Linked DNA regions of Homo sapiens: region 2 is linked to region 1. The links are contacts of gene promoters, found by promoter capture Hi-C in blood cells and fetal thymus (Javierre and others, 2016). All regions are on one chromosome and are shown on one strand. Each heading gives the region's core, a stretch centred on a gene start or on the middle of the fragment in contact. The rest is flanking DNA. Distances are from core to core; before and after follow the strand shown.

Region 1 (5,311 bases), core at 1,288-3,787:
AAGTCAGGAAGATTTTTCTAAGGTAATTATTGATTCAAATCTGGGAGATTTATTTCCTCAACAAATATTTACTGGGCATTTACTATGCACCAAGTATTAGATATTTAAGTGTAAAGTAATAGGGGTTGGAAATATAGAAGGAAAACTTCCCACGCAATGCAAACAGCAGGTTCAAAGTCACAAAGATGTGAGAAGGCAAGGCGAGTTCTTGGAAGGTGACTTCTTGGCGAATTCAATGTGACAGGGAATAGGGTGAGAGTTGAAGAGGAGCAATAAATGACAAGAGAAATAAGTGGAGGCAAGGATGTCTGTTTATAGGCAGTCTTGCATATCATACTATGGCATTTGAAATTTATTCTGTAAACACAAGGAGCCAAAGAAGGGTTTAATCAGGGGAGTGATGTGATCAAATTTGTGTTCTTAAAACACGATTCTGGTGATAGCATTAATCTGAGCAAAGTCAGTTTTCTTTAGGTATGGGACAGTTTTCTATGCAAACCAAAACTAATGGGTTTTGAAGTAAAAGCACTTAAAAATTAAGAAGTAAGAGTGAGTTTTCCAAATCTGCAGTAAAATACTACTTTGATTTGGAACATGTAGTATTGATCACAGATCAAACCTGTGCAAAAAAGAAGATCACAAACAGAAACATGGGACACTCTGAGTGAAACAACCAACTCTACCAGTCTGGCCCTTCTAAGATCTATCTCATAACCCTTGTATGCCTCATTAATTCCCTTAGCAAACGAACATTTATTGCACCAGACACTGCTTCAAGCACTTGGTATACGACAAAGAACAACAATAACAACAACAACAACAAAAGCCCACAAAAGATTCCTGCCCTCTGGAAGCTTGCATTTCTCTGAGATATAGATAATAAACACTAAACATACTAAGTAAATTACATGATATATTAGAAGGAGATAAGTGTTATCGAAATAAAACAGAGTAAGGAAAATTGGGAGCGTGCATTTATGATAGGAACCAAAAGAGGCTAACGAGTTGTAAGTGGATGATTTCAGCAAGGAATGAAAGGAACTGCAAAGCCCTCTGCGTGTAGAATTCATGACAAACTCTATGGTGGGGGCAAAGTCCTGTCGCTGCACATGGGTCTCAGCTGCAAAAAGAGAGTAGCCATGAAAAACTGTGTGTGTATATGCACACATACATAAACACAATAATAGATGATTTACAAATCATACATGTGATTTATACGTGTGTGTGATTTATACGTGTGTGTGATTTATAAAGCCTATGTAAGCCTACTTTAAACAGTGTGAGGTGGACAAGGCTTAAAACGGGCTGGAACATTTTCCCCCTATTATTTCCACAATAAACCATTCCTGGGCATGGTGGTGATGTGTGCGCGCGCGAGTGTGTGTTGGACAGCATCCCTTCCTTGGAACAGAGCCGGCCAGAGCCCTATTCTTCTACAACCTGTCCTAATAACAGCCTAACCTGGCAGGAACCTCGATTTTTTTCTTCTTACCACAAAAGCAAACCAAACCCCTTCCACAACCTAATATCATAGCGTGGTGTCCTTCCTCACTAATCCGCCACTGCTTCTCTAGTCCTGACTCCAAGGGAAGAATGCCATCTACCGAATCATCCGTACCAGTCAACCAGCCCCGCAAAGTGCAGCAACACTCAGCTCAACGCGGGTCAGCTCCAAATCCTCTCCCTCTGATTATTCTTTGGCCTTTAAAATATTTTTGCCTCTATTTGGGCTGACAGGAAGTTATGCTCTCGGCGCAGATATCTGATAAACACTTCCACATATTGTAGCCTTCTCAATAGCTTAGCCAAATTTCGGCGTCCTCGCTCTGTCTGCATTTTCCTTCATTGCTCTTTCACGTTTGGAATGCCCCCGTCTCTGCAGCCTGCAGACAGCGGAAACCGCGGGTGCAAATGTGCAGGGGCCGCTGACATGACCGGCTGCAGAAGCCCACTCAGGGTTACCCGAACAGGCTAGCGTTCGGGATTGCACAAGAGGTCAGGCGATGCTGTGGGCTTCCAAATTTGTACAGCTGCGACACTCTGCGACGTGCCACCCTATCCCCAGTGGGGTGGGGTGGGGGATTCCCTCCGCAGTCCGCTGAAAGCGAGGCAGGAATCACTGCAACTCCTCTGCTCAGGCTGAGGTCGCCACCGCTCCGCGGATGCACGCGCTGCAGGGGCGCCTTCCGCCGCGGGCACGGCGCGGGAAGGGATGGGGTCTGGTGGGAGTGGGCAGGTGGCGGGAGAGGCGCGTGTCCGTGCACTAGAGGCCCCCGTGCGTGACACAGGCCGATGAGCTCCTGCGGGCTGCACCCACGCGGAGTCACAGACCGAAAAGGTCAGCCGGTGGCCGGTGTGCTAACATATATAGAGAGACGCCCGCCAGGCGCGCCGCAGGCTGGGACGAGGCTAGGAGGGCCCAGGCTGGAGGAGGGCTGAGGAGGGCTGCGGGGGCGGGCCCCGGCGCAGGGCGCCCGGAGCGGAGGGGGCGGGCCCGAGGCGGGGCGGGCCGCGGCGCTGACGGGCTGTCGCCGCTGCACTCGCCTCCAGCCCGCGGTGTCGAGCGCAGGCGGAGGTACATGGCCCCGACGGGAGGCGCGCGGCGAGCACCCGGAGCTCGGCTCCCTGCCTGAGCACGGCAGCCGCGCCTCCGCCCGCGCGTCCTCGCCCCTCCGGCCGGCAGCCCGCGGACATGATCGTGTAGCCTCCTCCTGGGCTGGGATTTGTTTGAAGATTTTCTTCATGGAAGCGATGTCCCCCCAGCAGGAGACTCTAGGGGGACAGCCGGGGCGCTCCTCTTCCCTGACAGGAGTGTCTCGGCTCGCGGGAGGCAGCTGCACCAAGAAGGTGAGGACGCTGAGCGGGGGCCCGTGCCCTCCGCCGCCGCAGCCCCCACTGCCGGCGCGCGCCCTCCGCGCCCGCCACAGCAGCGCGCTAGGCGGACGCCGCGGGAATTTGACGCTCGAGGCTCGCGGCCCCTAATGAGAGTCCCAGAACACTTCCCGCCCTTGACGGCCAGCGGCAGCGCCGCCGCCTCCCGCAGAGCGCCCGCTTCTCCGTTTCTAGAGCCTTAGTCTCTCCTCGAGCGACCTCGCAGCCTCCCTCCCGTCTCCATCCGCCGCCGGTTCTGCAGCCCGGCTCCTCCCTCAGTCTAGGCGCGCGGGCTGTAGTGGGCGATCGCCTTTCCCCGACCCCTCGCCGTGCCCCTGGGCCTCCCGAAGTGGCCTGGGCGAGCACTGACTGCCCTTTGGCGGTGTCAGCCCCAAAGTCAGGGCCGGCGATGTCTGCCCGGGAGCGGCAGCCGGCGCTGAAGAAGGTAGGCAGCGGGGCTGCGGCGCTGGTGGGCTCGGCCCCCTCACCTGCCCGCCGAGGCGCGGCTGCTCCATAGCAGTTTTCGGGGGGCAGATATGGGGAGTACTGCCCCCCACACCAGGGTCCTGGATGATTCCGGGTCTCCCAGGTGGGGGTCACAGTTTGAGGGGCGACTGTGGATGATAACGCTCGACACTACGGGGACATGTAGGTTCGGCTGGGCCTAGAACCGAGCAGGGTGGGGGCGGGTGGGCTGTGGTTGGGGGTCCTGAGGGCTGAGGTGGGGGACCTTCTCCCTGCACTGGTCCCTGGCCCCTGGGACTCTGGCCGGGCTGGATAGGGATCCGGGTGTCGGTGTGGGCGTGGGGGCAGCGCGTGTTCCCTGTCAAAGCTGGGAGAGGGATGCAGGTGACAACTTGTAGCGTTCCATTCCGATAAACACGGCCGCTGTGCTGCGGGAGGATTCCGATCCGGGTCAGGTTTCGCTGGAACGGTTCCCTGAGCAAGTGCACGTGGGCCGCGGGCTGCCGGCCTCTGCCGTTTCGCTCCCTGAGGAATTGATTTGGGTGTTTCTAGCCCTGTCTGCCTGTCCCCCGCCTCCCCACCCCCGCTTCCAGCATAAGACTTTCCGATATTTTGCCTTTTTTTTTTTTTTTGCCTTGTCTTAGTGGTGCCCTTCCAGCTTTTCTGGAAACAAGTTGCGATTAGAGGCATCTTCTAGCTTTTCCTTAAGAAATATCTTAAGGGATTGCATTTGTTTCATTAGAGACTTAAAGGGGTTACGCAGGTTCCCTGCTTGTCTTGATTTTACTGCCTTTCATAAATCTTCCCACCAGGATCTTAGGTTGGCTAGAGGTCAGTTGAAGAGAGGTGATCGGTGTGCCGAGTATAGAAATGTGTGGGAGTTCCCAAGGACCTTGACCGTGTCACGGAGCCATCTAGGGGTGTCCGTGAACTTGATGATGTATGGGCTGTAGTGCCAGCTCAGCCTTTGATGTATTGAGGCTGCGGTTTGTCCTTGTCGCTTTTCCCCTTCGGAGATGGAGGGAGTGTGTGTGTGTGTAGTCAAGTCTTCCCAAATAAAACGTGAATTTATCAGGCTAGCCCTACATTTACTGACATAAATTTTAAAACTTAAAGCATTTTATTTTTGTAAACGTAAGGAATTGGAAGAAAATCAAAGATTTATTTTTCTGAACAGTTTTTTCTTTTTTTCTTTTTTTTTTACTAAGGGTATAACACTGCCAAAGGGAGGAAGCATTAAAGAGGAGCTTTATTATCATTTATCAAGTAATACTTGTCCAATAAATGAAGGGTTGCTTCGCTCTTTTCCCACATTCTTTTTACTTATCATAGCCACCGTCCTTAAGATGCTGTCGTTTGTTATGAAACTTAACAGGTTCACACATTAACAAACCAGTACCTACCTTTCCAACATCGTTGGGAAGATTAAATGTGAAATTCAGTGAATAATGACATATAATAGACATTTAATAAATGTTAGCACTTACTGTTTGCAACATCCCTATATCTGTAATTCATACCTTTGTGTCCCAGTTGTTCAAGCCAAAAATCTAGGATTCGTTTTCAACTCATTTCCTCTCTCTGCACCAACCAATCCATCAGGGAAGCTATTGTCAATCCGAACGTGTCTTGAATTTCTCCACTTCATCTCCACTGTTGCCAGTGTAGTCCAAGCCAAGCCGCCATCTCTCACTTGTACCTTTGCAGAAATGTCTTAACTTGCCTAACACCTTTCTTGCCCTTCTTTGATCCAGTCACCACTTTGCACCAGAATAATCTTTTAAAATGTAAATTAATCATGTTGCTTACCTGCTTAAAATCCTGCAGTGGCTTTTCATCCATTTATAATAAAATTCAGACCCCTTTTTCTTGGCCCTGTCTACTTCTGCCACCTCATCTATGCATCCCCCCCTTGTTTGTGTATTCTCCAACCACATGGGCCTTCTTCCTCTTCATATTTCAAGTCATCAAATTC
Region 2 (5,311 bases), core at 1,233-3,732, 240 kb before region 1:
GTTAAACAGTTCCGTTTGTTCAATGGCCCTGGACTGCGGAGTGTTCTCCAGGCTTTTCCAAACCCCAGAGACTTATCTAAATTATCTAACTTGTGAGAACAAGATCGCTCATGAGAGAAAAGTGCTTTCTCTTTCAGAATGAGCTTTAGAATCAAGAACTCACTTTCTAAAGGCAAGTTTGTGCTTTGACTTTTGGCTGCAGACTCAACCAAGGACTGAAGAGAAACAAAAATTTGTCAATGTTGGAAGCTCAGTAAATGTTTCCAGTTGGGATTAATTCATTGGTTAAATGAGTCTGACACAGATGACATATCTCAATAGATGTGGAAATGAGGTTCTTTCTGTTAACTGGGGCATGAGCTTTCAGTGTACTGGTACTGACTTTTCAAGGCCTATTGTACACCGTGGGCCTTAAAAAGGCACTTGGGTTATAGCAGCCAGGGTTTTCCCTTGGGGTCTTGGGATTTGGGGAGCACTGTTTAGAAACATCTGTATGGGATCTTATGTTTGGAAATTGCCTCCCAGTCACCTCTTTCCTTTGCTACAGCACTGGAAATATGAGCTCCACAGTTTAGCTCAGTGACAGGAACTCTCTATAGAAATCTGCAGCTGCTCAGACCTCTCTCATGGTGTCTCATGGAGTGCAAATTTGGCAAAAGTCCCCCAGAGCACTTATCTCAGAATCTACTAGGGCCAATTGTGACATTTCAGCCTCTGTTCTTCCCCTTCCCTAGTACTTCAGGCATAAAGTACCAGTGAGTCAAAGAAAGAGGTGTGTAATTGAAACCACCTTATTGAAAAGCTGTAATGGGTTCTGCCACGTCCCTCCAGCCCAGAGCTTTTGAACAGCCTTCCTGCCACCCTCCCTCCATGCATTCACTTTCATTCATTCAGTGAGCATTTATGGACCGCATATTAGGAACAAGTCTCTGTGGTCAGTTCTGTGGGAGACACCCCTCTCTGGGCCTTCCTGTATTGTCCCTAGAATCTTCTTTACCTCCACTTTTCCCCTCTTTGGTTAATCACACAGATTCTGCTGAGAATTGTGCCTTTACACAAAGATTGAACAGCCTTGGAGGAGGGTAGATCTGTGTGAAAGATCCCCAGCTGTGCTCAGTAGAAATGTTCCATTAAATATCTCAGTCTTTATCACGAGGACATCACAAGCTGTTCTAATCATACACTGTCCGGCCAGGCTGAATGGTGGCAGAAGCATGGGGCCCGTCTGACACCCCCTGCCTGCTTCCTCCATTTGGAGCTAGATCTTAAGGGGTGAACAATGTCACTCTCACCTCACAGTGGACTTTGCCCTGCAGCAGGAGACTGGTGTTTCTGCTTTCCAACTAGTAAAACATGCTTTAGAGCCCTGTTCATCCATTTTATTCCAGGGAGGACAATAATTTTTACAGGTGCTAAAAAATGCAAACATGTGAAAGCTAGTGTTCTTAATAATACTTAGATTAAGTTTTGTGATGTTGTCTCAGAAAACATAATTCAGATGCCCATGACCTCTGTTTTTTTATTTTAAAATCAAAGTGAAAATATTAATTTGCATTTGGAATTATCTAAGCTTGCTTGATACAATACCTGGCACTTTATGGATGCTCAAAGAATATATTTATTTTATGAATAATTTGATCGGGACATGAAATATGATACCTGAGAGGAGGAATGTATGTTGGAGGTGAGAGCATGGGTTCAATTTTAATTCTGGACATAGATTAGAAATGTCTGAGGAACAGCCAGCATAGGTGACCAGTTGATCATTAGAAATGTGAGACTACCAATCAAGAGAAGAATCAGGAACATTCCCTCCTTCAGGGAGCCTACTTGTGGTTCAGCCTCCCCAAGCCCAGTATGATGTACTTGTACGTTTCTCTCACAGTTATTACCTGTGATGATTTTTATTTAGCTCCATCATTAGAGTATTGGCTCCTTGAGACCATGGACTATATGTTGTTGGTCAGTTTTATCCCCAGAACCTAGTATGGTCCTAGCACAAGGCAGACACTTAATGTTTGTTGACTGAATTATGAAATGAGTGATATTTTTTTAAAAAAGTGAATTGACTTTCTTAAATCCTCAGCACTGTTCTTGACCCACCCTTTCCCTTGACATCCCAAGTGTAACAGAGTCATTCCATTCTGCCTCTTTCTCCAGGGCTCATGAAGCTCACCTGGACTATGACAGTAGCCTTCTTTTATTTATTATTTTTTGAGATGGAGTTTCACTGTTTCACCCAGGCTGGAGTGAAGTGGTGCAATCTCAGCTCACTGCAAACTCCGCCCCCTGGGTTCAAGTGATTCTCTTGCCTCAGCCTCCCGAGTAGCTGGGATTACAAGAGTGCACCGCCATGCCCAGCTAATTTCTGTATTTTTAGTAGAGACAGGGTTTTGCCATGTTGGCCAGGCTGGTCTGGAACTCCTGACCTTAGGTGATCCATCTGCCTCGGCCTCCAAAAGTGTGAAGATTACAGGCCTGAGTCACCGCGCCCGGCTGACAGTAGCTTTCTAATGGAGCCATCTGCTTCCAGTCTTGCCTCTCAACCCCCAATTCATCCTGGACTCCTTGCCATAAGTGACCTTGCTAAATGGAGATTTGCCTCAGGTAACTTCTCTGCTTAGAGGCCTGGAGTAGCTCCTCATTTCTTTCCAGATAAAACTCAATCCCTTTCCTAAGGCATGTAAGACCCTCTAGAATCCTGCTTCTGCTTACTGCCCTAACCTTCTTTATTGCACCTCTCCATTATCCAGGCTCTGGAGCCAGAGAAACTTAGGTTTCCAGCTCAACTACTTATTCACAAAAGTTCAAGGGCAAGTGTTTTCATCTGGACTTCAATATTACGAACTACACAATGGGTAAGCTACTGCTACCTATTTCTGAGGTTATACTGAGTATCAGATTAAAAGCAAACATGTGAGGTGCTTATCTTAGTAACTGGTATATAGTGAAGGCTAAATAAATGTTAGCCATTACTTTTGTTATTATGAGCATTCTTTTTCAAAAATTACTTGCTCACTCTTCTTTGTGTCCTATTCAAACACTATTTCTTATGTCTTCTCTTCTTTGTCCAATTAATTCCTCAATATTAAAGACTCAGCTCTGATTACATTTAACCAAGGAGGTCTTTCTTGAGCCTACTGTTTGACTACCTCTATTTATCTCAGTGTTTTATGGATACTTATTTTATACATAGTTATTTCAGAAACAGCTTTTAAATGAATGGAAATTAATTATTGAACTCATCTAATTGTTCCACTATAGTATGAGCTCCTCAAAGGCAAAAGGTCATTTAATGTGGTCTCTAGAAAATAGCAAGTATTCAATTAATGCTTCATGGAGGAAAGAAGGAAAGAGGGAGGGAAGGAAGGAAGAAAGGAAGGAAGGAAGCTTTAAGAGAGGTAGGAAATTCAAGAGTAAAGTAGGTCTTAGCAAGAAGATAATGCTCAATTTAAGAGACTGGTATGGTTTGGCTGTATCTCCACCCAAATCTCATCTTGAATTCCCATGTGTTGTGGGAGGGACCCAGTAAGAGGTAATTGAATCATGGGGGCAGGTCTTTCCCATACTGTTCTCATGATAGTGAATAAGTCTCACAAGATCTGATGGTTTTGAAAAATGGGAGTCTCCCTACACAAGCTCTCTCTTTGCCTGCTGCAATCCATGTAAGATGTGACTTGCTCCTCTTTTCCTTCCACCATGATTGAGAGGCTTCCCCAGCTGTGTGAAACTGTAAGTCCAATGAAACCTCTTTCCTTTGTAAATTGCCCAGTCTCGGGTATGTCTTTATTAGCAGCATGAAAATGGACTAATACAGAGATACTGAAGTGATTAGAAAACACTTCCAAAAGTCTCTTGGTCTAGAGCCCAAGAGAAAGACTAGGGGCAAAGACGTAGACTTGGCAGATGTAGCATATGGGTGGCAGTTTAAGGGCATGGCAGTAGATGTAATTACCTTGACAGGATGTTCAGAAAGAGAAGTCAAGGAAGGATTGACTTCTGAGAGACACCAATATTTAAAGGGCAAGCAAAAGAATGCCTAGCAAAGGACTATCTGTTTCCTTCCTTGAACCTAGGTATGGTTTCAAAATCCCTCACTTGTGACCCAAATTGCTATTTCAAGATGAAGAACATTCCATCTCTCATTCAAGGGGCAAGGAACTAGGTTAAGTAAATGTTATTGAGTCATATGCTGAACAGCTGTGTCCTTCTCCAGCCCTATTTCTCACCACTATTCTGCAAGAAACTTTGGCTTTTGCCAAGTCTCTCCACCCTCCCCAATTACGTACTCTGTTTTCCACCTCCACCTCCACCCCTACACTTCCATTCTGCGGCCTTTGCTTATGCTGATCCTCCTATCTGGACTGTCCTCTCCGTTCTTTATCTACCTGATGTTCATTTGGTCTCCAATGCTTCTTCTAAGATCCATCACTTGCATGCAGTCTTCCTCAGTTATTCCAATCCACACTGACATCCCTGTCCTCTGATGTCTAGGGATTTGTGGCACCCACACTTATATTGCCTTTTTGTTTGTTTGGTTATTCTCAAATTGACCTCTCAGCGAGAGGGTGCTCCTTGATCAAAGGAATTATGGACTGAGAATCTATGGCCTAAACACTGGTGTCTTAGCTCCCAAAATTCATAATGAGTTTATGCAAACTTTTATGCCCCCTCCCCTGAGCACCCCTTCCCCACTCTCTTCTTAGAGACTTCCTGGCTGGAGGAAGAGTCAAGCGTTAGCTTTGGCCTGGGTGGTCTGGCTTTATCTAGATGAGCAGGACAGCTACTAAACACTGAAAGGTCTCCTGTGGCTTGAAAGAGTTAAAATACCTCCTGGAGGGTCCAATTTCCAGAGAGCTAACTCTTTCAAAGCCAAAATTGGCAAAGATAATCTACCCCCAAGCTGGAAAATGTAGTTAAAAAGTCAGTGGAGGATAGGGCAAGGAAAAGATATTGGTAAAGAAAATGCCTTTTCTTTCAAATGGGTTGAGTTGGTAACTTGAAGACACAGACTTAGACAACAGGACTCTTAATCCTGAAAACTTTGGAATGTGATTGCAGAGTCTGGGTATTGGGGACGAAGGTGCTCCTGGGCTAGGGAAGGGCAGGCTGGGGAAGGGCCAGGCAAAGCCATTGTATCTGGTCATTGAGAAGATTGGTGTGTGAGAAATGAGGCCTCTTGGCTGCAGCTGTCCCCTGGGGCCCATTAGGGCATTCACACTGTGTGACGACTGAGAACAGGCAGGTCCCTAAGCCAAGACCCAGGCCCAGGCCCAGGTTCATAGAATTCTGGGTGTTCCCAGAGTTTGAT

What was found. The method cuts DNA at HindIII sites, captures the fragments that hold promoters and counts their contacts. A CHiCAGO score of 5 or more calls a contact.
Region 2: a fragment that was not itself captured here is called in contact with the fragment with the promoter of ARHGAP20 in region 1 in 1 of 17 cell types (M1 macrophages); the score reaches 5.6 in M1 macrophages.

Annotation. Positions count from the first base shown.
Region 1 is chr11:110,709,663-110,714,973 of GRCh38, reverse strand. ARHGAP20 (Rho GTPase activating protein 20) reads left to right here and starts at 2,537. Exons shown (of 15, transcript NM_001384657.1): 1 at 2,537-2,847. The coding sequence starts at 2,743. RefSeq lists silencers at 2,426-2,585, 2,606-2,665 and enhancers at 2,189-2,690, 3,673-4,318. The HindIII fragment of the contact is 6,153 bases long and covers 857-5,311 here.
Region 2 is chr11:110,947,203-110,952,513 of GRCh38, reverse strand. No RefSeq gene overlaps it. Among named protein-coding and RNA genes, the nearest start is that of LINC02550, 150 kb to the left of the region's middle. The HindIII fragment of the contact is 1,820 bases long and covers 1,573-3,392 here.